Linked DNA regions of Homo sapiens: all the other regions are linked to region 1. Evidence: promoter capture Hi-C in 16 types of primary human blood cells and fetal thymus (Javierre and others, 2016). All regions are on one chromosome and are shown on one strand. The core of a region is centred on a gene start or on the middle of the fragment in contact, and the rest is flanking DNA. Distances in the headings are between cores, read along the strand shown.

Region 1 (3,978 bases), core at 948-3,447:
GTTTAAGTGAAGACTTCAAAAGTTTTAAAAAATTAGCAAAGAGTGCAGAAAAAACATATCTTTTATGCCAGGCACAGTGATGTGTGCCTTTAGTTCCAGCTACTTGGGAGGCTGAGGCAGGTGGATCGCTTGGGCCTGGGAGTTTGAAGCCAGCCTGGGCAACATAGCGAGGCCCTGTGTCTTAAAAAAACAAACCATCATTTAGAGAACCACTCACTTGCATCTCTCCTCCACCAACTTGCACCTAATATTAAATCTTGTCTTTCTGTCCAGAGCAGTAAGTCTTACTGCCTTACATGTTATGTAAAAACCATATTTTAAGCAAAATTATTTGTTTGTATAATTTTCTGTTGCATCAATATATTTTTTCTGTTAAAAATATTTAGGTGCCTTAGGCTGGAATTGAACACAATTTTGCCCATTTTAATTAATGGGAAAAATTTAACAGCTTTCCACTTAGAAGCAGAATTTCAGGAATGAATTGAAACCACTAGAAGGGTGATAGCTGTATTTTCATCATCTCCCCAAGGGCTTTGGGACAGCTTTCCCATCCTCTGTGCCTGTCACTTTTCCAATTCCCATCACCCGTTGTTCTTCCAGTTAGTCACCCCTCCCTTGTCTGTTACAGGGGTTCAGTATTAATTGTGTTAGAATGCATCTGGTTGCAAGTAACATAAAACTCAACAAACTCTGGTATATATAAGATCCCTCATCCCGATAAGACAGGAAGGTAGTACAGGGTTTGTGTAGCTGCTTGAGTATGACTTAAACAAACAGGCTCCTGTCTTTCTGCTCCACCTTCCTCAGCACAGCCCTCCTCATGGCCTCTAGGCTGCTGTGCTCCCAGGTGTTACCCAGTTCCAAGCATGAAGCAGGGGAAAAGTGAAGGACACAAACTTCTCCAAGGGAAGAAGGAAGGGAAGGTCTCCTTTGATACTTCTGCCTACATCTCAGTGGCCAGGACTTTGTCTCACTGCCACCCTTAGCAGCAAAGAAAGTTGAGAGTTGTGTGCTTTGCTTTTCAGCCCCTGTAGTATAGAAAGGCAAGGGAGTGGTTGAAATAGATCTTGAGTTAGCCAACTACATAATTTGTCACACTGTGTTTAATTGAAATGTATTGCTTGGATCCAGTGTCCTGGACATAGCCTCGTTCCTGTCCTAGCACATTCTTACCCTCCTTTTCCCTCTTCCTTCCTGTAGCTATTTTTCTGGGGGGTGAGGTGTGGTCTTGAGGAAACACTCTTCAGTTTTACCCTTTCTGTGAGGATACTAGTTCCCTTATCACTCATTCCTCCATAGTCTCTTCTAACTGAGGTGAGGAGTCAGAATCTTCTTTGCTCCCTTCTGCTTTTCAGACAACCGTGCCTTCACCTCTACTCAACACCCTGACCCCTCCTCCCTCTCTCAATACCCAAGGTCAGTCTCAAGGCCAGGTCCTCCGTGAAGAATTCCACCATCCCTCCCTCCTCTTCTTTCTCAGTCCAAGTTTCCTCCTTTAGATTCTCAAAGCACTTAAGCTGTACCTCTCCAATGGTATTATTTTCTTCGTTGAAGTGAAAGCAAATTATTGAAAGTGGTACTGTTTACAAAATGTCTAGCGCATGGCAGGTGCTCGAAGTAGTATCTCTTAGTATTATTACTACTGTCTTATCTCGATCAGATTCAGCTCTTTAATGAGAGGCTCTAAATCTTATGTTCGATTCACCTTTGTAACCCACACCGGGCCTGGAATAGAGCACTGTTCATAATTAATGCTGTGCCCGTGTAATAAGACGGCGGCGAGCAAAGGGCATCATTTCAGAGGAAGAGTGCTGTAATGGTGGGATGGGAGAAATTCCTAGAACCTAGGTGGGAGCCAGAATCTTGCAGAGAAGCCCCTTATCCGTCTGCACCGAAAGCAGGTAGAGTGGATGCCGTAAGATTCCTAAGGACGCAGGTAGAGCGCCTCCTCTGTGCCGCGATGAGGTAGGTGCATCCGTCACTTCACTCCTCCCTCTCCACTTGATCCGGAATGGGAGGAACGCAATGCGTCCCGCGCGGCGATCTGGGATAGCTGCGCAGGCGCAGCTTCCGGCTCTGTGTCTCGGGAATTATTTGACGCCACCGGTTCAGCCCCGTAGAAAGCTCTGATTAGGCGCACCGCGCACGCGCAGTGGCCCACTTGGCTGGGGAGTTATTTGACGCCGCCGCCCCTGGCAGTCGGAAGTTGCCTGAGCAGATCCCAGCCGGCTGGCTCGAGTGGCCTTCGTCGTCCCTTGGCGCCCTGGGAGAGTCGCTGACGGGTGGACTGACGGACCGCCTGAGGACGGCCGGCCAGGGCGGTGAAAGCGCCAGCCCTATGGCGCGGGTCGCGTGAGGCGGAAGGCCGAGGACGGCCGGCGGCGGCGCCCGCCCCGGCGATGCGGGCCCCGCCCGTCGCCTCAGGTAACCGGGCAGCCGGCCCCGCCGCGGCCGGACCCTCCCCTCTCCTTCCCTCTCTTCCCCACCTGGCGGTCAAGGGACGGCTGAGGCTTGTTTCTCGGCTCTGGGTGCTCCAGGGGCCCGGCCTTTGGAAGCTCATCTGCAAATTTTTGGGAGACCCACGGGGGCGGGGAAAGCTTGGCCCTGGAGTGGGCGGCTGCTGTCGAGTCTGTGTAAACCCGGTCTAATCCTTGGGAGCTACCCCGGCCAGGCGAAGCTCTCTCCTGGCAACCTGGGGGAGGGGGCGGGTCTGGAGCGGAGCTAGACAACTCCCGCAAAGAATTTGGTCCAGCAGAAAGGTTAGGCAAGTTGCTGCCGCCCAGTGGGGACGATGCTGCCCATTGCACAGTGACACTTTGATGAGGGAGAGTTGATGATGGGAGTAAACAGCTAACCCCCATTAAGCGCTTCTTATCCGCCAGGCATCATGCCAGGCCATTACGTTCTCCACGTCTAACTTCACAGCAACCCTGTGAGGTAGGATTGTTGTCCCCATTTTACTGACGAGGCAACTGAGTCCCTGGGTGGTTGGGTGACTTAATTACCCAAGGTCACATAGCTAGTAATTTGAACCGGAGCATCCGACCCAAGTGCTTAACAATTAGGGCAGTGGCTCTCCAACTTTGCTACACTGTAGAATCACCTGGGGGAAATTGTAAAGGTTTCTGATGCCCATGTGGCATCCCAGACCAAAACAATCAGAATGTCTGGAGTTGAAAGCCAGACTTCAATATTTTTTTTTTAAAGATGCCCAAGTGATTCCAGCTTGCAGCAAAGTTTGGGAACCGCATGTAATTTGATAATTCTGCATCTCAAAAAGCATCTCTCTTTCTCCAGCTTAAGTGTGCAGGAGAATTGTCTGGGAGCTTGTTAAACTTGCAGGTTCCACCCGCAGAGATCTTTAGGTTGACTGACCACTACACCTTGTGAAAGACTGTTAGGGATGGAATTCTCTGCAGGGATTCTGAGTCATCTGGAACATTTAAAATGTATGCATCTTATGCAAACTGCTCGTTTGCAATTTTCCTAAATATACAGTACTTATAGGTGTAGCGTCTGTAACCTCTGGGTCGTTTTTACATATGCTGGAAGTCTGCCTAGACCATCCTCTGAACGTTCTGGCCATCCCACCCAAACGCACACACTTCTGCTCTCTCCTATATGCATATACACACCCTTTTCTTTTCTTTCTTTCTTTTTTTTAGACAGAGTCTTGCTCTGTTGCCCAGGCTGGAATGCAGTGGCATGATCTTGGCTCACTGCAACTTCCGCCTCCTGAGCTCAAGCAGTCCTCCCACCTCAGCCTCTCAAGTAGCTGGGACTACCACGCTTGGCTAATTTTTGAATTTTTTTTGTAGAGATGGGGTTTCTCCATGTTGCCCAGGCTGGTCTCAAACTCCTGGGCTGAAGCAGTCCACCCACTATGGTCTGCCATAGTGGTGGGATTACAGATGCGAGCCACTGTGCCAGGCCTACATACCCTTTTCTTCCTGTCTCTGGCTGCATTAGCTTTAAGCA
Region 2 (3,978 bases), core at 749-3,248, 500 kb after region 1:
GGGTGAAGATCTCTTGTTTAATCTGCCCAGCATGGCGGTTACTGAGAATAGCATTTCCCATCTATCCACTCCCGATTCCATGGTTCCAATGGGGACTGTCATTTACCTCATCCCATTCCACTGGCCATGGTTGATTGTATTGGGGTGGGGATTGGACCTAAGCTGGGAGAAGTCAGTCCCTGTCTGTCCAGTATAAAAGAGCCTCCCCCACCCCCCATTACAACACATACCTGGGACTCCCAGTCCCCCTTACGTTGTCTTTATTTCTCTCCATAGCACTTATGACCACTTCATGCACCAAGTTACTTTCCACTGAGAGGAAGAATTAAAAAAGCAAGTGAGCTCCGTGAGGGTAGGGCTGGCATCTGTATTGTTCACTGCAGTGTTTCTAGTGCTTAGAGTGGTACGTGACATGGAGTGGGCCCTTGGTCCATCCTTGCTGGTCCTTGCTGGACCACGATGAATGATTGGTAGAGGAGTTGTAAGCGTGAACCCTGGCACTGCCGGCAGCCGTCTTTCCAGCTCCTGTACAGTAGCCAACCTAAGGGGCTGGAAGGAACCTGCAAGACGTGCCAAGATGAGAGAAGGAGAAAGCCATGGCTGCTTTGAGTGCCCAGTTTCTGTCATCTCTGAGCCTTATTGCCATCCTACAGTAACAAGATTCATCCTTTTACCTCAGCTAATTCCCACTGGGTTTCTTTCACTTCTGTTAAGAATTCAGTAATAACATGGACATGGAGGCCAGAAGTAAAGACACTGTGCTCTGTAATACACAGTTCTGAGTGGCCAATTTGGAGCCCAGTGGGACTGCCATCTCGTTTCTTTTTTCTTTTTTTTTGGAGACAGAGTCTTGCTCTGTCGCCCAGGCTGGAGTGCAGGGGCCCGATCTTGGCTCACTGCAACCCCTGCCTCCTGGATTCAAGCAATTCTCCTGCCTCAGCCTCCCGAGTAGCTGGGACTACAGACACACACCGCCATGCACGCCTGGCTAATTTTTTGTATTTTAGTACAGGTGGGGTTTCACCTTGTTGCCCAGACTGGTCTCTAACCCCTGAGCTCAGGCAATCCGCCCGCCTCGGCCTCCCAAAGTGCTGGGATTACAGGCGTGAGCCACTGCACCTAACCCTGTCTTGTTTGTTTTTGACACTGCAGTGAAGCTTTTAGGGAAGATTTTTAGTTCCTCGTAGGCACTTTTCTGGATTCTTTCCTAAAGTTAAGGTTGAATACCTTTGAGTAGTTTGAGATAAAAAGTATTGCTTCTTCTGTATATCTTCATCTTTGAAAGTTTATAAACTTAACACCTTTTTCTGTTCATTGTATCAGAGAATCTGAAAAAAAAACATTTCTGCTGCAGGTACAGAGGGGCCAGGTGTAAGCATCTCTGAAGAGAGACAAAGTCTGGCTGAAAACTCTGGGACAACGGTTGTTTACAACCCTTATGCTGCCCTTTCCATAGAGCAGCAGAGGCAGAAGCTGCCGGTATTCAAGGTACGTCAAATAATCATGTTCAACCTGTGGGCTTGAATCGTGTGTCTGCATTAGCTTTATGCTCAGCACTGAAGGGAATGATGGCCTCTTTCTAGAACACAGTGAGCTCAGAGAAACCCTTACTGTAAGGGATGACTTTTCATACTGTGTATTTTTTAGTTAACCTTATAAATCTTGAAAGTCCTTAAGATTTTTTCAGTTGCATCGTACATACTGGAAAACTGGAGGAATTAGAATGACTTTTGTTTTCCCCTTTATTCCTTTCAGCTGTGGACAATTTCAGATATACAGAAAAGTAGAGAAAATAGCAGTTAATTTCTATATAACAGATTACCAACATATGGCCAATTTTTGCTTTATTTTTAAAGTCACTCCTTTAAACAAGTTTAATTGGGAATATGAGGTTGTTTCTGCTGAAGACATCAGTTAATACTCTGACTTCCTCTGAGACAGTGACAGGATTTTGGTATGGTTACTACTTACCAAGTGCACATCCAGACACTCAGTTTTATTAGCGCTCACGAAACAGATGTGTGCTCAGCTACAAGAGACCAAAGTGCAAACTAGAATTCATTCAGAACTGTTCATTTATGGCTAGCAATAATTCTCCAGTACAGATGGACACAGTTGACATATACACTTTGTCCCTGTTGGCACATCCACATGGGAAGCCAAATTGTAATCAGGAAGTACAGAGCCAAGACAGGTTACAGAAATGTCATACAGCCCCTGATGAGGGGTGAATTCTCCCTGCTCCACAGGATGCCCTTGGAATGACCCGAGTAGGTGTGGCCACCAGCATCTGTGTCTCTTTCTTTCTCCTGGACGGTGCTGGGTGAAAGTTGCTGTGTTCTATCTATCTGTCTGTCTGTCTGTCTGTCTGTCTATCTATCAGACAGGGTCTTCCTATATTGTTCAGGCTGGTCACGAACCCCTGAGCTCAAGCAGTTCTCCTGCCTCGGCCTCCCAAAGTGCTGGGATTACAGGTGTGAGCAGCCAAAAGGTGCCAAGTTCTTATACTCATGGAGTTCTTTTGACTAGACTGTGCTGATAATTCCTCTTCTATTAATGTGTTCTTTCTCCAAACAGATAGGCAACAGCAGCCTTCTTAATTTAGCCAGATTGCCTTACTTGGAGTTTTATGTGGCTCCCAATATTTTAGTCACAAGTGAACTGACTGTCTCTGGGTTTCTTCCTCAAGTGACTAACACATTCACTATGTATGAATGTTAGCAAGTTTGACTTTCAGGAGATGAAATGATAGGTTTACTATTGCTTTCTCACCACTGAGGGACAGTTTGAGCTGTGATGAAGTGTCCGGACTCTGGAGCTAGACTTCAGGGTTCAAACCCAAGCTTCACCATTTGTGTGCTGTGTGACCTCACTTCTCCATTCTGAGCTTCTTTTCTTTATCTGTGATGTAGGACTACAGGAGCACCTACCTCATAGGACTGTTATGAGGACCAGATGAGATCATCCATGCAGAGCATTTAGCAAGATACCTGACATGTAGTAAATGCTCAAGTACAAGGGAAATTACTGTTTACTCAAGTATTTAAATTTTGGCCTTTTCTTGACTATTCTTTGTCTCCCAACTGTACTTACAAGATAACATAAATGAAACAGCAAATGAAAAAAAAAAAAGCAACAAGAAGTTAAGAAATGTTTATGAAATTAAAATGGTAAGAAGAAGGGTGTAAGTTACTGATATAAAGCAAAGCAGAGTTTAAGTACAGTTGAGATCTTATAAGATGTTGAAGATGAATCGAGACAAAAAGGAAAACAAGTTACCTCTACGCCATCCTTTTTCCCTTTCAAACAAAAAGTAAAAGTAGCTTTAAAAACAGAAATTGGAGGCTCGGTGTGGTGGCTTACGGCTGTAATCCTATAGGCTTTGGGAGGCTGAGGCGGGTGGATCACTTGAGACAAGGAGTTCGAGACCAACCTGGCAAACATGGTGAAACCCCATCTCTACTAAAAATATAAAAAATTAGCCGGGCGTGGTGGCACATGTTTGTAATCCCAGCTACTTGGGAGGCTGAGGCAGGAGAACTCTTGAACCCGGGAGGTGGGGGTTGCAGTGAGCCAAGATTGCACCACTGCACTCCTGCCTGGGCAACAGAGCGAGACTCCATCTCAAAAAACAAAACAAAACAAAACAATGTTGGAACTAAAGCATCAAGAGATTGTTAAAGATCACTGCCTCTTCCCCAGCACCATTATGAGGCCACCTGTTCCCTTGTCTGCCTTCTTTAGGCTGCTGTATAGACAATAGTGACTCTATCTTGGATGCAAGTCTGCCATGTTCACTTCTGTTTAGACCCAGTCTTATAAATGCCTCCTGATTTCTGCTTTGTATATTGTCCTTAGTGTAAGAACATGTCAACCTCTCTGGGGGCAGCACTATTGACAGCTTCTTGTTTTGTTTTGTTTTTCCCCAAAAACAGTCTACGCATAAACAAGTAGATACGTGTTTGCCCTAAGAAGAAT
Region 3 (3,978 bases), core at 864-3,363, 480 kb after region 1:
TGATCTGGAGTTCCGAATCCTGTATGCCCAGTCCAAGCCCATCAGCCCCAAACTCCTGTCTCACTTCCAGAGCAGCAACAAGTTTGATCACCTCACCAACCGAAAACCACAGTCCAAGGAGCTCACCCTGGGCAACCTGCTGCGGATGCGGCTGGCTAGGCTGTCAAGTACTCCCAGGAAGGCGGACCTGGACCCAGAGATGCCCGCAGAGGGCAAGGCAGAGCGCAAGCCCCATGACTGTGAGTCCTCTACTGTTAGTGAGGAAGACTACTTCAGCAGCCACAGGGACGAGCTCCAGAGCAGAAAGGCCATTGACGCTGCCACTCAAACAGAGCCAGGAGAGGAGATGCCAGGGCTGAGTGTGAGTGAGGTGGGAACACAAACCAGCATCACCACAGCATGTGCTGGTACCCAGACTGCAGTCATCACCAGGATAGCAAGCTCTCAAACCACGATTTGGTCCAGATCGACCACTACTCAGACTGACATGGATGAGAACATTCTCTTTCCTCGAGGAACTCAATCTACAGAAGGGTCACCAGTCTCAAAAATGTCTGTATCGAGATCTTCCAGTTTGAAGTCTTCCTCCTCTGTGTCTTCCCAAGGCTCTGTGGCAAGCTCCACTGGTTCTCCCGCTTCCATCAGAACCACTGACTTCCACAATCCTGGCTATCCCAAGTACCTGGGCACCCCCCACCTGGAACTGTACTTGAGTGACTCACTTAGAAACTTGAACAAAGAGCGGCAATTCCACTTCGCTGGTATCAGGTCCCGGCTCAACCACATGCTGGCTATGCTGTCAAGGAGAACACTCTTTACTGAAAACCACCTTGGCCTTCATTCTGGCAATTTCAGCAGAGTTAATTTGCTTGCTGTTAGAGATGTAGCACTTTATCCTTCCTATCAGTAACTGCTCCGTGTTCAGACTCCTGGTTTCTTCCAGGCTTACAGTGGACATCATCAGCTTCCTGCTTTAAAAAATATCTTATGTCCCTAATTGCCTTTCTTTTACCTGACTTTGTCACCTTTGTTGTCTTTGAATTCTTTAGGCTGCATATTATTTTACATGCTTTGTTTTGTCATGTATATACCAGGTATTGGTTTTATGGTTTAAACACTATGGATACAGGGGTTTGTTTTGCACAATTTTAATAGTCATGCACTACATAATGATGTTTTGGTCAATGACAGACCACGTATATGTTGGCAGTCTCATAAGATTATAATACTGTATTTTTACTATACCTTTTCTGTGTTTAGATACAAATACCATTATGTTACAGTTGCCTACAGTATTCAGTGCAGTAACATGATGTACAGGTTTGTAGCCTGTTTTGCATTTTTCTTAGGTTGTATGCTCTTCTGTTTTAAAGGTTTGAATCACCAGCATTTTTGTGATCAAAATCCTATTTAGAAAAAATAAAACTACTTTCTGTTTATCTCTTTAGAATATCTGTGTTCTTAGCATTAAATAAATATAAACTTGTGCTTCTGTACTTTTTCCCCCCCTCTGACACTTTTCTCTTTAAATCTGGGAGTATGTCACAAATTAATGCACCTAATAGATATAGGTATATAGATATCTATATCTGAAGGTTTTTTAAATAGTGTCAGGGTGAGGAAGAAGTAGATGATCCAAACTATAGAAGAGAAAATAGATCCACTTAACCTTCCTCAGCATCATGAATATTGATGTTACTCTATAGTTTAAGTGAGGAAACTGGCCAGAAATAGCAGGCCTTTGCACATGCTCTGCCTTTTCTCTTTTCGAAGAAAAAGCCTGAGCTATTTCAGTAGGTCCTTGGTACTCTGGTACTCTGCTTGTCTACCAAAGGAGGCGTTAGTGTATGTTCCTATATTCATTCCCAATATTAACTCTGGTGGCCCCATGGGCCTCATTTCATCAGCTGGGTGTATTGACAGTGATTTAGCCATCTAATATCCCAGAGTAGGGGCAAAAGAGGACACTGACAATTATCCCAGTTTCCTGGTCCAGTGGCAGGCAGTGTAATGGTTTCTACATCCTTCTAATCAGGATTGGTATGGCTGTGGAATCCTGTTTTTGTCTCATTCTCATGGACAGACAAAAGGGAAGAGAGTTAAATGATGCCTTCCTCCCTCTCCTGACTTAGCTACAGCAAAAAAGATCTATAACAGGGGAAGGTGTCTGCCACATAAAATGCTGATGCACTTGTATCATGAGTGTCCCTACACTCACGCGTGTGCCAGGACTTCCTTATGATGGTCAGGCTATTTGCTGGGTTAGTGCTGTAATCTGTGGCTATAAAGAAAAGGAAAGGAAGGAAATTGATCCATGTCTGCTTAGAAACAACTCTGAGCTAAGCCTCGAGTAAACATATTGTTATTTGAAATCATCTTACAGACTTAAGTCACTTCATATATGCCATCTTTGATCTTTGCAGCAATGTAGCAGAGAGCTATGCAGGTTAGGTAGCTGTTATTTCCAATTTTCAGATGAAACTGAGGCACTGATTAAGTAGCATATTCAAGATGACATGGCTTGTAAATGGTGATGCAAGAATTTAAACACAGGTTTCTAGATTCTAAGTGCAGTACTCTGTTACATGACTATTTCTCTACACGGAGTATGGAAGCAGGAGAGAGTGTACCTTGAGAAATGGCAGTTACTGCAATGGTGAATGGAAAACTAAAACAGCCTCATTAACAAACGTTAAGTACAGGCTGGGCGCGGTGGTTCACGCCTGTAATCCCAGCACTTTGGGAGGCTGAGGTGGGCGGATCACCTGAGGTCAGCAGTTTGAGACCAGCCTCAACATGGAGAAACCCTGTCTCTATTAAAAATACAAAATTAGCTGGGTGTGGTGGTGCATGCCCCTAATCCTAGCTACTCGGGAGGCTGAGGCAGGAGAATTGCTTGAACCTGGGAGGCGGAGGTTGTGGTGAGCCGAGATCACGCTATTGCACTCCAGCCTGGGCAACAAGAGCCAAACTCTGTCTCAAAAAAAACAAAACAAAAACAAAACAGCAAAAAAAGCAAAGTACAACAAAAAAAAGTAAGTACAAAGTCCTAATCTGTGATACTTCTTTTTGTTTGTTTTTGAAGCAGTCTCGTTCTATTGCTCAGGCTGGAGTGCAGTGGCACAATCACAGCTCACTATTTTTTTGTAAAGGCAGGGTCTCACTATGGTGCCTAGGCTGCTCTTAAACTCCTGGGCTCAAGTGATCCTCTTGCCTCAGCCCCTCAAAGTGCCGGGATTACAGGCATGAGCTACTGCATTCAGCCTGTGATAATGTATTTTAATTTAGTTTGAAATTTTAACTGAATGTTCTATGGAACTGTTAATAGGATGACATAACAAAGGTTCTGTGTTTAGTGTGAGAAACTGGGCCAAAGAAATGTAAACAAAGTTCTTTAATGCAGGACTACTCAGAACTCTGAAGTAATGATCACAGTGAATTTCTCAGAGCAGGGCAGGTATATGGCTTACCACAAACTACCTACCACAGAGTGCTCTTTTTGTGGAGCAGGACTCAAAACCATTATTCTCTGAAAGTGTGGCCAACAATTAGAAATAAGAGCAAGAGCCGGGCGCGGTGGCTCACGCCTGTAATCCCAGCACTTTGGGAGGCCGAGGCGGGCGGATCACGAGGTCAGGAGATCGAGACCATCCTGGCTAACACGGTGAAACCCCGTCTCTACTAAAAAAATACAAAAAATTAGCCGGGCGTGGTGGTGGGCGCCTGTAGTCCCAGCTACTCGGGAGGCTGAGGCAGGAGAATGGCATGAACCCAAGAGGCGGAGCTTGCAGTGAGCCGGGATAGCGCCACTGCAGTCCAGCTTGGGCGAAAGAGTGAGACTCCGTCTCAAAAAAAAAAAAAAAAAAAAAAAAAAAGAAGAAGAAGAAAAAAGGCCGGGCGCGGTGGCTCACGCCTGTAATCCCAGCACTTTGGGAGGCCGAGGCGGGCGGATCACGAGGTCAGGAGATCGAGACCATC
Region 4 (3,978 bases), core at 1,085-3,584, 450 kb before region 1:
AGACAAGATTAATGATTTGGAAGATAGGTCAATAAAAAATATTCAAACTCAATTAGAAAAATGAATGGTAAACACAGATAAGAACATAAAAGACGTGGAATAAAAGACGTGAATAAATGAGTCTCAGAAGACAGCATAGAGCAGAAGCAATACTAAAATGTTCAAAACAAATGAAAGAGATCAACCCACAGATTTAAGAAACTCAGCAACCCAATTATTTGGCCAATACAAAGAAAAGAACACACAGACATCATAGTCAAACTGCTGAAAAACAAAGAAAAAGAGGAAAACCTTAAAAAGCAGTGAAGCAATAAAAATGACAGCTGACTTCTCAAAAGAAATGACAAAATCCAGGAGTCAATAGAATGCTATCTAAAGAAAATAATTCCCAACTTTGATTTTTTTTTTTTTTAATCTATGGACTAGGGAACCAACTTTGAATTTTACAGCCTATAAAAACAACATCTTTCAATAAAAAGGTAAGGCTGGGCATGGGTGGCTCACACCTATAATCCCAGCACTTTGAGAGGCTGCGGTGGGTGGATCACTTGAGCCCAGGAGTTTGAAACCAACCTAAGCAACATGGCGAAACTCCATCGCTACAAAAAATACAAAAATTACCTAGGTGTGGTGGTGTGCACTAATAGTCCCAGCTGCTAGGGAGGCTCAGTTGGAAGGATCGATTGAGCCTGGGAGGTTGAGGCTGCAATGAGCTGTGATTGTGCCACTGTACTCTAGCCTCGGTGACAGAGTGAGCAGGTCTAAAAAAAAAAAAAAACAAGGGTGAAATTCAGATATTTACAACAAACAAAACCTGAGGGAATTCATTGCTATCAGGGCAACACTAAAAGAAAAAACAATGTAAGAAAATAAACCTAGACAGAAGCATGGAACTATAAGAGGGAATGAAGAAAATGAAATAGGTAAATATAAAAAAATTAACTGTACAAAACAATAACTATTATGTCTTCTGTAGTTTGTGTATATATAAAACTAAAATGCAAGACAAGAATAATTCACAAAAGGTAGGGAGGGGGAAGGAGTTAAGTGTCTAAGAGTCTAGTAGTGTAATGAAGTGATAAAATAATCTGTATTAGACCATAACATGTCAAGATGTTAAATGCATGTTGAAATCTGTAGAGTAAGCTCTAAGATAATTGTAAAAGAATAGCTACCTAACAAGATTACAGGGCAGTAAAAAATGGGATACTATTTTTGATTAATCAAAAAAAGGGCAAAAATGCAAAAAAAAAGAAATAAAACTAGTGAGCCAAATTGAAAACAAAAAGTAAGATGGCAGACAGAAGTCTGAAGTACAACTAAAACAGCGATTACATTTGTGCAGAGTTTCTCAACAGCAGCACTATTGACATTTTGGGTGGGATAATTACTTGTTGGTGGAGGGCTGTCTTGTGCATTGCAGGGCATTTAGCAGCATCCTTGGCCTCTGTATCTTGGCCATCCATCTATCTGCTGCTAGTAGCACCAACCCAGGTGTAACAAACAAAAATGTCTCCAGACATTGCTAGATGTCCTGTCAAGGACAAAAATTGTCCCTGGATTTGGTACCATTGGTAGAGTCAGCATAATCCTAATCAAAATCCCAGTAGGATTTCTGCAGAAATATGATGAGTCTAAAACTGATAGAGAAATGCAAAGGACCCAAAATAGAAAAGACAATCTTCAAAAATAAGAATGCAGTTACAGAACTTACACTAACTGATTTCAAGGTTTACTATAAAGATACAATAATTAAAGGACAGTGTATACTTGGCATAAAGAAAAATGAACAGAACAGAGTTCAGAAATAGACCACACATAGAATAGAGAGTCCAGCTACACACCTGACAAATATGACAGTAAAATGAAGGGGTGAAAAGAATGGCCTTTTCAATTAAAGGTGCTATGTCACTTGGCTACTCATATGAAAAAAAAAAAAAATATATATATATATATATATATATATATATGTATGTATCTTGATTCCATCACATCCTATTTAAATGTGAAATGTAAAACAATAAAGCTTTCCAAAGGAAACAGACAAGAACATCTCTGTGATCCTGGAGTAGGCAAAGATTTCTTAAATAGGACACAAAAAGAAAAAAACTGATAAATTGGACTACCTTAAAATTTAAGAACTTCTCTTCATCAGAAGACACTATTACAGAGTGAAAAGGCAATTCAAAAAGTGACAGAAGATACTTGCTATATATCTGACAAAACACTCATATCTATAATATACAAAAGATTTTTAAAAAATCATTTAAAAAAGGAAAGACAACCTAACAGAAACATGAAAAAGGACCTGAATAGACATATCACAAAAAAGGATAGCCAAATAGCCAATAAACATATGACAAGACTTTAAATATCATTAGTCAGGAAAATGCAATTTAAAACCACAATGAAATATCATTACACATCCATGAGAAGAGCTAAATTTAAAAAAGGGAAAATACTAGGTGCTGGCAAGGATACAAAGCAACTAAAACTCTCATTCAATGCTGGTGGGCGTATAAATCAGTGCAGCTAGTACGGAAAACTCGTTGGCAGTATCTATTATTTCAAAGGTGAATATATATATGCTCTATGATCTAGCAATTCCATTCTTTGATATATACCCAATAGAAATGTACATATAAGCTTATCAAAAGATATATTCTGGAATTTACTATACACAATCACCCTAAAATGAAAACTACCTCAATGCCTATCTGTAGTAGAATGGATAAATAAACTGTAGTACATTCTATGAAATACTATACAGATGAAGATTTACCACAATCAGAGATCTTCAAAAGTCTGGGTTATAGGCTCAGAAATATATAAACCAGCTTTCTCTAAGGAAGACAGCATAACACATTGCTACTTTGGCATAACACATTGCTACTTTGACATGACTATAAAAGGCAATCATATAGCTTTATGGGATGGCCATGAAATCACAGTTGTGTGACAATATGTCAATTACAGAAAGAATTGTTTAGAGATTTAGAGCCTTAGGAATCCTACATTCTATTCCTATAAAATGCAACCCTGATTACTTAGAGTGGTGCTGCACCAAAGTTTGATATTTATAACCAACAGCAACAGGGGCATTCTGGTCCAGAAAGTTATACTGGGATGAGGCATTCAGAACAAACGGATTCTCTGGATGAGTAGACAAAACCACCCAGAGCTCAGAGTGACTGAATAAACATGAATAAACATAAGCATGAGCAAACAGTTCTTGACTGCTAATGGACACCTAATCCCTTTCTAGTTTAGTGGCCCTCCACTGTGGTCCTGGAAAGTAGTTGGCAAGTAGGCACTGGAGAGGTGGGAGATGAGATCTGTGATTGGACAGCATGAATGAACTCACTGCCCCCGGCAAGCCTATTCCCCTCCCCTCTACCTAACTTGTAACAGGGGTGGGCTATAAGTAAGATCCCTGGGCCATGGTGTAAAGGTGGTGAAGACAAATGGAACAATCTGTACAGGAGACGGTGTTATACTTTACAGATACTTAGATCCCAAGGTACTTACTGTATCACACAATCAAGAAGTGAAAAAGGGAGGGGAAAAAGTGCAAAAGGAATTTGGAAACAGAATGAATACGAACAAGGAAGAGGGAGAAGGATCTGTGTTGAGCTGGGGTACTATACACTTTGGGCTATGTGAGAAGGCTGCTCAAGGTGCAAGGCCTGTCACAAGCAAAGGCCAGAAGGGAGAAAAGTCATAGCACCTAATAAAGGCAGAGATGAGACAGAGATGCCATTGTGGCAGGTGAGCCAGGCCTCACACATCCATTCAGATGAAATCATTTGGTCAGGGCCTTTGCACTTGCTGTTCTCTCCCCCATGTCCTCAGGGCTCGCTCCTTTACCACTTTCAGGGCTTTGCTCAAGTGACGCCTTGTCTGATCACCCCTATTAACACTGCTACCCATGCTTACTCCTCATCTCCTTTCCTTGCCTTTAAAATTTTCTTCCTTAGC
Region 5 (3,978 bases), core at 887-3,386, 430 kb before region 1:
CTAATGTTCAGATTGATTAGCCCTGTAGGTTCTACCTAGGGTGAAGTCATTTTCCGTAGCTGAGATGCTCACAGACTGTCTCTGAGTTGCCTTCAAAATATATGAGATTTATAAAAATTAACTTTTTTTCTTGCTTAAATACTTCTATTCCTGATGTGTTGTCTTTCCATTTTCTAGGAATAATTTTTAATTTATCCCATTTGAGCTCTGTTCTAAGTAGAACGTCTCCCCTTCTTTATGGACTAGTTTTGGTGTAAAGTGCTCCTAAATGAATGTTTTTAATGGTGTTTTGTATCTTGGCCTGAATGTAGGTAATGGGCTTTTATTGCAGAATTACTTTAAGACTTTCTGTAGATGTCAAAACCAGCCAAACAAGTGAAAAGTTTTGATTAACCAGTTGTTTAAATTTTACTCAACAACTAGTTTGACCAGTTTGGAATGGACATGGGTAGTGAGTGAAAGGACCTATTTCTGTCGTATAGGAAGGACATCTGAACAAGTGAGTTGTCCCCCAGGATTGGGATGGAGGGGTGTGCATGTTGTGTGTATTGTGACTGTGTGTGCTCAAGAGCTCTAGGGTTTTGTCATATCACCTTGACACACATGGTGCTTATGTTGACTGTTGAGGATGTTGAATATGGAGGGATACAGTTTATCCTAAATAAATCCCCATTGTTAAGTTCTGGGGTGATGAAAATTAATTGGCATTGTAAACAGTGAAAACCTTGGGTCTCAAGCCCCTTAGATACCTTGTTTGTCTACTGAGAAGTATATATCAGGTCTTGAATGTCCACACTGACATTTTACAATATGGATTCTAGGTTTTTTTTTTTTCAACATAAAGTGTATGGAATTTTAAAGCTTCACTTAATGAAATTTGCTTTGTTGAAGTTCTGTTTTGCTTTCGAATCTGCTAACTTGCATGGGATTATAGGTGTAGTAGTTTCACTTACATCAACTTTGCAGAGCAAGGTTTGCTTTAACAAAAAAGCACGTTTTGCCATAATCATACCTTTGTAGCAACAGTAGATATTGTAACTACTGACACTTTTGTTCTGCTTTTGAATAATAATTAGAAAGTTGAAGAAAGCTCCAGGTTCCTAGTATTCTTATCAGTTGGCCATCTAAACTAGGTTATTACCAGAAGGTTAAGACAATTCAGGGTATCCATATTTAATTTTATGAGCATTTAAGACATCAGTTTCATCAGTTTAAACTGTAATGTGCTATTAAAATCATGTTTTTAACTTGGGTTACTCTCCTGTAGCTACATTTTTTTTTTTTTTTTTGAGACGGAGTCTCTTACTCTGTCACCCAGGTGGGAGTGCAGTTGGCGCGATCTCGGCTCACTGCAACCTCCGCCTCCCAGGTTCAAGTGATTCGCCTGCCTCAGCCTCCCAAGTAGCTGGGTTTACAGGCGCCTGGCACCACGCCCGGCTGATTTTTTTTGTTTTGTTTTTTTTTTTTTTTTTTTTTTTTGAGACAGAGTCTTGCTCTGTCACCCAGACTGGAGTGCAGTGGTGTGATCTCGGCTCACTGCAAGCTCCGCCTCCTGGGCTCACCCCATTGTCCTGCCTCAGCCTCCTGAGTAGCTGGGACTACAGGCGCCCGCCACCACGCCTGGCTAATTTTTTGTATTTTTAGTAGAGACAAGGTTTCACCATGTTAGCCAGGATGGCCTTGATCTCGTGACCTCAGGTGATCCACCTGCCTTGGCCTCCCGGAGTGCTGGGATTACAGGCGTGAGCCACTGTGCCCAGCCTCCTGTAGCTACATTTTAAAATGTCAGATCTTATGCCTGCTATGTCAGACATATCAATGCTTTGTACATTTCAAAAGAAACAACTGGTTTCAGAGAGAAATAGAGTTACTCAGGTGTGTTAAGGTTGATAAAGAGCTTGTGTTTTTCAGGTACTTTAGCATTGGAGAAAACTTTGTGTTTTGAAACATCTAATTATGTTCTTATTTATTTCTTTTAAAAGAAAATTGGAACCAAAAATTGTAGGGATGTAACTTTATAGTTGAGAAATTATGTGCATAGAAGCCAGGGAATTCAGTAATGTTCCCCAAAGCAACTGTAACTCAGACATATTGCACGAGGTTTTTATGGTTTAATATATGATACCATATAGAGTAATAGGGAATAACCACATTTCATATAAATAAGAGAGAATTATGGTTTTTGTGAAAGCCCTAATTTTGCATATCTAGATTTCACACGTGTGTAAATTTTCAATAAGAGTGTAGTGTTAATGTATACTTGTATTTGAGCTAATATCTATTGGTGCACCTAGAGATTCTTCTATATTATTGATTATGGTTATTGGAGTATCAGAGAAATTCTCAGTTTAGGAGCAAAATTACAAGAAACCTTTTTTTTTTTTTTGAGACGGAGTTTTGCTCTTGTTGCCCAGGCTGGAGTGCAACAGCATGATCTAGGCTCACCACAACCTCTACCTCCCGGATTCAAGCGATTCTCCCACCTCAGCCTCCTGAGTAACTGGGATTACAGGCATGTGCCACCACGCCAGGCAAATTTTGTATTTTTAGTAGAGACGGGGTTTCTCCACGTTGGTCAGGCTGGTCTCAAACTCCCGACCTCAGGTGATCCGTCCATCTCGGCCTCCAAAAGTGCTGGGATGACAGGCATGAGCCACCACGCTCGGCGAAACCATTTTAAAATTGAAACCTAACTCAGTCTTTTTTTTTTTTTTTTGAGACAGAGTCTTGCTCTATTGCCCAAGCTGGAGTACAGTAGTGCAATCTCGGCTCACTGCAACCTCCACCTCCTGGGTTCAAGCGATTCTCCTGCCTCAGCCTCCTGAGTAGCTGGGACTACAGGTGCCCACCATCACACCCGGCTAATTTTTGTATCTTTAGTAGAGGTAGGGTTTCACCATGTTGGCCAGGCTGGTCTCAAACTCCTGACCTCAAATGATCCACCCACCTCGTCCTCCCAGAGTGCTGAGATTACAGGCATGAGCCACTGCGTCCGGCCAACTCAGTCTTTCATTCTGAAATATTTGATAATTAAAAGTGAGTTAGAAGTTGCTCATTTTTGCAGTAGAATAAATAAAAGCCCTAGTTTCAACATTAACACTGACTGCTTATCCTTTAGGAATTCTCTTTGGATTATCTTAATTTTTACTATCAATTAATTACCCTGGTTTAAACAACACAGCAATGAAGATGGCCCATTCTTTTTCTTTTTCTTTTTTTTTTTTCCGAAATGGTATTCCCAAACCTATTCCTTAGGTGGTCTTTTTAAACATATCTACTTGACCCCCCAGGTAGATAATACTTGTCTTAATGTTTTTTTAGGAGCAGCCCAGGGCAAAAGAATTGTGAATTGAGAATTTCTTTGGTGTAAGTTAAATTCTTTTCTTTTCTTTTTTTCAGCCAAATCAAATAGAAAGCTTACTTTTCTGTATTTAGCGAATGATGTCATCCAAAACAGTAAAAGGAAAGGACCTGAATTCACTAGAGAATTTGAATCTGTCCTTGTGGATGCTTTTTCTCATGTTGCCAGGTATGTTGTCTGTTTTTTGGATTTGTTTTTAAATTCATTGCCTTTCCCACCTTTTTGTTCTTTCCTTTTCTGTGATAGCCTTTGTAAATTGACAACTTCCTACTTTACAGAGAGTTGTGGAGGCCGAATTGTGGTTTTATGTTTTGTTGAGCCCTCAAGAACTATCGAGACATGTAAACATTCTGATACATTTGAGAGATTCAGCCTAGCATTATCTTTCTTCTAGATATATTCATTTTCATTTTTTGAATTTATTTCTTGGTTATGGTATTTTCCTTGGTTTGGTTGAGTTGTCTCATCAGCTTATGATCAAAAAACAAAGCTAACTAGTAAGGGAACCTTTTAGTAACATAACTTAATAGCAAGAAATTAATTGCCAAATGCCTTCCTTTTTATTTCCTTCTGGATTTCTAGATGTCTAGTTTACTAAAAATAGTAGGCATTACTGT
Region 6 (3,978 bases), core at 1,246-3,745, 280 kb after region 1:
AAAGCAAGTCACATGACCAAGCCTAATATCAGTGTCCTCAAGGAGAGGCTCTACAAAGTTACAAGGCAAATGGTATGGATGTATCATCCTACTATAAAGGAGTGAAGAAAAAAAAAGTAAAGGAATGAAGAACTGGGAATAATAATCCAATCTACCTCATGTGCCAAACGCTTATAAAGACCAGCCTGGGCAACATGGCAAAACTCTGTCTCTATGTGGTGGTGTGCACTTGTAGTCCCAACTACTAGTGAGGTTGAGGCTGGTCTTGAACTTCTGGGCTAAAGCAGTCCTCCCACCTCAGCCTCCCAAAGTGCTGGGATTACAGGCATGAGCCACCACACTGGCCATCCCCGTTGGAGTTGCCTCTCATATATATATAAAATAATAATATATATAATATATATATTTACCTTGGTGCTTTTCTTTTTTTCTTTTTTGTGAGACAAAGTTTCACTCTTGTTGCTCAGGCTGGAGTGCACTGGCGTGATCTCGGCTCACTGCAACCTCCGCCTCCAGGGTTCAAGCGATTCTCTTGCCTCAGCCTCCCAAGTAGCTGGGATTACAGACACCTGCCACCATGCCCAGCTAATTTTTGTATTTTTACTAGAGACGGGGTTTCACCATGTTGGCCAGGCTGGTCTCGAACTCCCGACCTCAGGCGATCCACCAGCCTCGGCCTCCCAAAGTGCTGGGATTACAGGTGTGAGCCACTGCGCCCAGCCAGTGCTTTTTCATATTAATATACATAGACACAATTCTTAAATTAACATTCACTAACTTACATTTACTGGTTTCTGTGTTCTGCTGGTCCCCCTCTTAATTAACTTAACGATGGTTACTTCAGATATCTGAACAATGGACGTGTGTTGAAAGACAACACAACCTGATTTTTGCCACTGGGCTGGCTCCCAATCTGGTTTAGGTGTGTTAACAGGCTGGGCCCGTCGTCTCAAGCCTGTAATCCCAGCACTTTGGGAGGCCGAGGCAGGCGGATCACTTGAGCCAAGGAGTTCGAGACCAGCCTGGCCAACGTGGCGAAATCCCGTCTGTATTAAAAATAAAAAAAATTAGCTGGGTGTTGTGGAGCATGCCTGTAATCCCAGCTACTCGGGAGGCTGAGGCAGGTGAATTGCTTGAACCGGGGATGTGGAGGTTGCAGTGAGCCAAGATCACACCACTGCACTCCAGCCTGGGTGACAGAGCCAGACTCCGTCTTAAAAAAAACAAACAACAACAACAACAAACACTGTTAATAGAGGTTCTTGAGATAAGTTAGGAGTTTCATTTCTCGCTTACAATATCTTTTGTAACTAATTTGATTTTATCTCTCAAACTGAAGTGTTATAGACCTGGTAGAGTAGATTCAAGGCAGCTGCTCTATTCTTTTTCTTCTTTCAAAATGGTTATGGCCAGCATGGGCAACATAGTGAAATCCCTTCTCTACTAAAAATATAAAAATTAGCTGGGCGTGGTGGTGCACGCCTGTAATCTCAGCTACTTAGGAGGCTGAGGCGGGAGAATCACTTGAGTCCAGGAAGTCGAGGCTGCAGTGAGCCGAGATCGCCCCACTGCACAAAAAAAGGTTGTAGTAAAACAACTGCTCTAATTCTTACCCCCTTAGCTAGTGAAAAGATGGAAATGCGACAGGATAGAGCGCGACGAGTGCTTTTAGGGCTAAAACTGAGTGGGTCACACACATGGCCTCCTCTCCCACCCGCTCCTGGCCAGAATTTAGTCACATGAGCGCATCTAGATCGCAGCCAGACGGATGGCCACGTGGGAGTGGGAGGTGATGCCACTAAAAGAGAGGGAATGCTTGGGGAACAATCAGCAGTCTTTTCTCAGGGTTTGAGAAAACACTGTGTCTTAGTGAGAAGACACAGTCTGTGCGAGTTAGTAAAGTGAACAGAACTGAGTAGTCAGCTCCCTAGTCAAGAAATTGAACAGTCGGCAGAGTTTGAGATTTCTTAACGTAAAGGAAGCGTCAAAAGATAAAGGACCCTTCTAGCCAGGACGCAAGACTGAGGGCGAGACAGCCACGCGGAGGCGGGGCCGCCGGCGGTCGAAGGTGCGCGCCCGGCCGACGGTGCGCGCCCGGCCGACGGTGCGCGCCCGGCAATGGGGCGTGGCCAGGCAGAGAGGCGGGGCTCCACCGAGCGCGGCGCTGAAGCTGGCAGCCAGAAAGGGGCGGGGCCTGGCGGCGATAGGCTTTGGGGCGGGGCTTCCAAACCGGGCGTCCCGGCTAGAGTGAAGGGGCGTGGGCACTCATAGGCTATTGGGGGAGAGGTTAAGAAACGTAGAATTTCGCAGCCAGAATGGGTACGTCTCAGCGATCCTGAAAGCAGCCTTGACAGCCAGAGGCGAGTCAAGTGGAAAGGCTGGCCGGGCTTCGAGAAGGGAGGGGGCATCGAGGTACTTAAAGGCCTGAATCGCGCGGCGTGACGTCGGGGGCGCGGTTTCGCGGCGTCTGGGCGGACACTGCGCCGAGGGGCGGGGCTGGACGCGCGCTCCAAGATGGCGGCGAACGTGTTCCCGTTCCGCGACGCCCGTGCCGCACCGGACCCAGTGCTGGAGGCCGGCCCGGTGGCACACGGGCCACTGCCGGTACCGCTGGTGCTGGACAACGGGTCGTTCCAAGTCCGCGCTGGCTGGGCGTGTCCCGGGCAGGACCCAGGTCCCGAGCCGCGCCTGCAGTTCCGCGCGGTGTGCGCCCGCGGTCGTGGCGGGGCACGGGGCGCGTCGGGCCCGCAGGTGGGGAACGCTCTGGGCAGCCTGGAGCCACTGCGCTGGATGCTGCGCTCGCCCTTCGACCGCAACGTGCCGGTCAACCTGGAGCTTCAGGAGTTGCTGCTGGACTACAGCTTCCAGCACCTGGGTGTCTCCTCACAGGTGAAGGGCGGAGTAGGCTGGGCTGGGCTGGGTTTGAGGGGAGGGGTGCGGTCTCGTCTCCGCTCACTCTGCTCTCGGAGAGGTAACAGTCACTTCAGTAGCTCCGATTGTCTTTTAGTCGACCAGATGCTAGGCGCTGTGGGTGTAGCAGCGAATAAAATGCTGCTCCTTGTATCTTGGAGCATACCTTTGGGCATATATGCTTGTTTGTTAAGAAGCCCATTTATTAACAAATACGTATTGAGCACTTACTCTGTGTCAGGCACTTTTTAGGCATTTGGAGTACATGTGTGAACACAAAACTTCCTGTGCTTATGGAGCTGTTAATACTATGGAAAGATATTCTAGTATGAAAAGGCAGACAGTAAACATAGAAATAGTAGATTCTACGCCGTGATAGGAGAGGAGGGAGTTACATTTTTTCAGTAAGATGGTCAGGGTAGGACTCGTGAAGGTGATGTTTGAGCAAGGACTTGAAGGAGGTGATTCAGGTAGCAAGCCATGTGAATATCTGAAGGAAAAACGGTCCAGGCAGAGGGAGCAGCCAGTAAAAAGGCCCCGAGGCAGGAGTGTGCCCTAATCCTAACTGCAAGGCTGCCTGTGTGAGGGGGAGAGTAGTACCTGAAAGAGGATGTCAGAGAGGTAGTGGAGAGGCAGATCACACACCTTATAGGCTTTTACTGAGTGAAATGGGGAGCCATGGCAGGGTGTTGAGCTGAAGAAGGACCTGACTTGTGTTTTAAAAGGATCACTATTACTGCTGTATGGAGAATGAATTGTCTTGGATCATAGGGTGGAAACAGGGACGAGTTAGGAGGCTGTTGGAATAACCCAGGTAAGGGATGATGGTGGCTTAGATGAGGCAGATAGCAGGGAATGTCATTAGAAGCAGTTGGATTCTGGAAATACTTTGAAGATAGAGCCAACACGATTTGCTGACAGTTTGGATGGGACCTTGACTTAATAACTTAAATTGACTCTACTTTCGTATTTTCAAGTAAAGATGAGATGGGAGTTTTATAATCGCCTCTGATCAGGTTTTTGATTAAGAAGCCAAAAGCAAATTCAGTCCTGCAATAAGGATTTTGG

What was found. The method cuts DNA at HindIII sites, captures the fragments that hold promoters and counts their contacts. A CHiCAGO score of 5 or more calls a contact.
Region 2: a contact is called between a fragment that was not itself captured here and the fragment with the promoter of RALGAPB in region 1, in 1 of 17 cell types (total CD8 T cells). The highest score is 5.3, in total CD8 T cells.
Region 3: a contact is called between a fragment that was not itself captured here and the fragment with the promoter of RALGAPB in region 1, in 1 of 17 cell types (naive CD8 T cells). The highest score is 6.7, in naive CD8 T cells.
Region 4: a contact is called between a fragment that was not itself captured here and the fragment with the promoter of RALGAPB in region 1, in 1 of 17 cell types (neutrophils). The highest score is 6.6, in neutrophils.
Region 5: a fragment that was not itself captured here is called in contact with the fragment with the promoter of RALGAPB in region 1 in 6 of 17 cell types (neutrophils, monocytes, non-activated CD4 T cells and 3 more); the score reaches 15.9 in neutrophils.
Region 6: a contact is called between the fragment with the promoter of ACTR5 here and the fragment with the promoter of RALGAPB in region 1, in 17 of 17 cell types (erythroblasts, naive CD8 T cells, fetal thymus and 14 more). The highest score is 13.0, in erythroblasts.

Annotation. Positions count from the first base shown.
Region 1 is chr20:38,470,646-38,474,623 of GRCh38, forward strand. RALGAPB (Ral GTPase activating protein non-catalytic subunit beta) reads left to right here and starts at 2,198. Exons shown (of 30, transcript NM_020336.4): 1 at 2,198-2,424. RefSeq lists an enhancer at 1,919-1,988 and a silencer at 2,279-2,478. The HindIII fragment of the contact is 2,916 bases long and covers 1-2,595 here.
Region 2 is chr20:38,967,727-38,971,704 of GRCh38, forward strand. DHX35 (DEAH-box helicase 35) reads left to right here. Exons shown (of 22, transcript NM_021931.4): 2 at 1,355-1,488. Among named protein-coding and RNA genes, the nearest start is that of DHX35, 7.4 kb to the left of the region's middle. The HindIII fragment of the contact is 1,686 bases long and covers 1,156-2,841 here.
Region 3 is chr20:38,951,611-38,955,588 of GRCh38, forward strand. FAM83D (family with sequence similarity 83 member D) reads left to right here. Exons shown (of 4, transcript NM_030919.3): 4 at 1-1,496. The coding sequence ends at 910. Among named protein-coding and RNA genes, the nearest start is that of DHX35, 8.7 kb to the right of the region's middle. The HindIII fragment of the contact is 6,290 bases long and covers 1-3,978 here.
Region 4 is chr20:38,018,384-38,022,361 of GRCh38, forward strand. All of the region lies in intron 1 of TTI1 (TELO2 interacting protein 1), which reads right to left. Among named protein-coding and RNA genes, the nearest start is that of TTI1, 13 kb to the right of the region's middle. The HindIII fragment of the contact is 620 bases long and covers 2,025-2,644 here.
Region 5 is chr20:38,037,036-38,041,013 of GRCh38, forward strand. It overlaps RPRD1B (regulation of nuclear pre-mRNA domain containing 1B), which reads left to right. Exons shown (of 7, transcript NM_021215.4): 2 at 3,400-3,529. It overlaps LOC124904898 (a long non-coding RNA gene), which reads left to right. Exons shown (of 2, transcript XR_007067579.1): 2 at 424-1,072. Among named protein-coding and RNA genes, the nearest start is that of RPRD1B, 5.3 kb to the left of the region's middle. The HindIII fragment of the contact is 2,555 bases long and covers 860-3,414 here.
Region 6 is chr20:38,745,965-38,749,942 of GRCh38, forward strand. It overlaps ACTR5 (actin related protein 5), which reads left to right and starts at 2,496. Exons shown (of 9, transcript NM_024855.4): 1 at 2,496-2,889. The coding sequence starts at 2,515. RefSeq lists silencers at 1,972-2,241, 2,542-2,731 and an enhancer at 2,092-2,593. The HindIII fragment of the contact is 9,906 bases long and covers 1-3,978 here.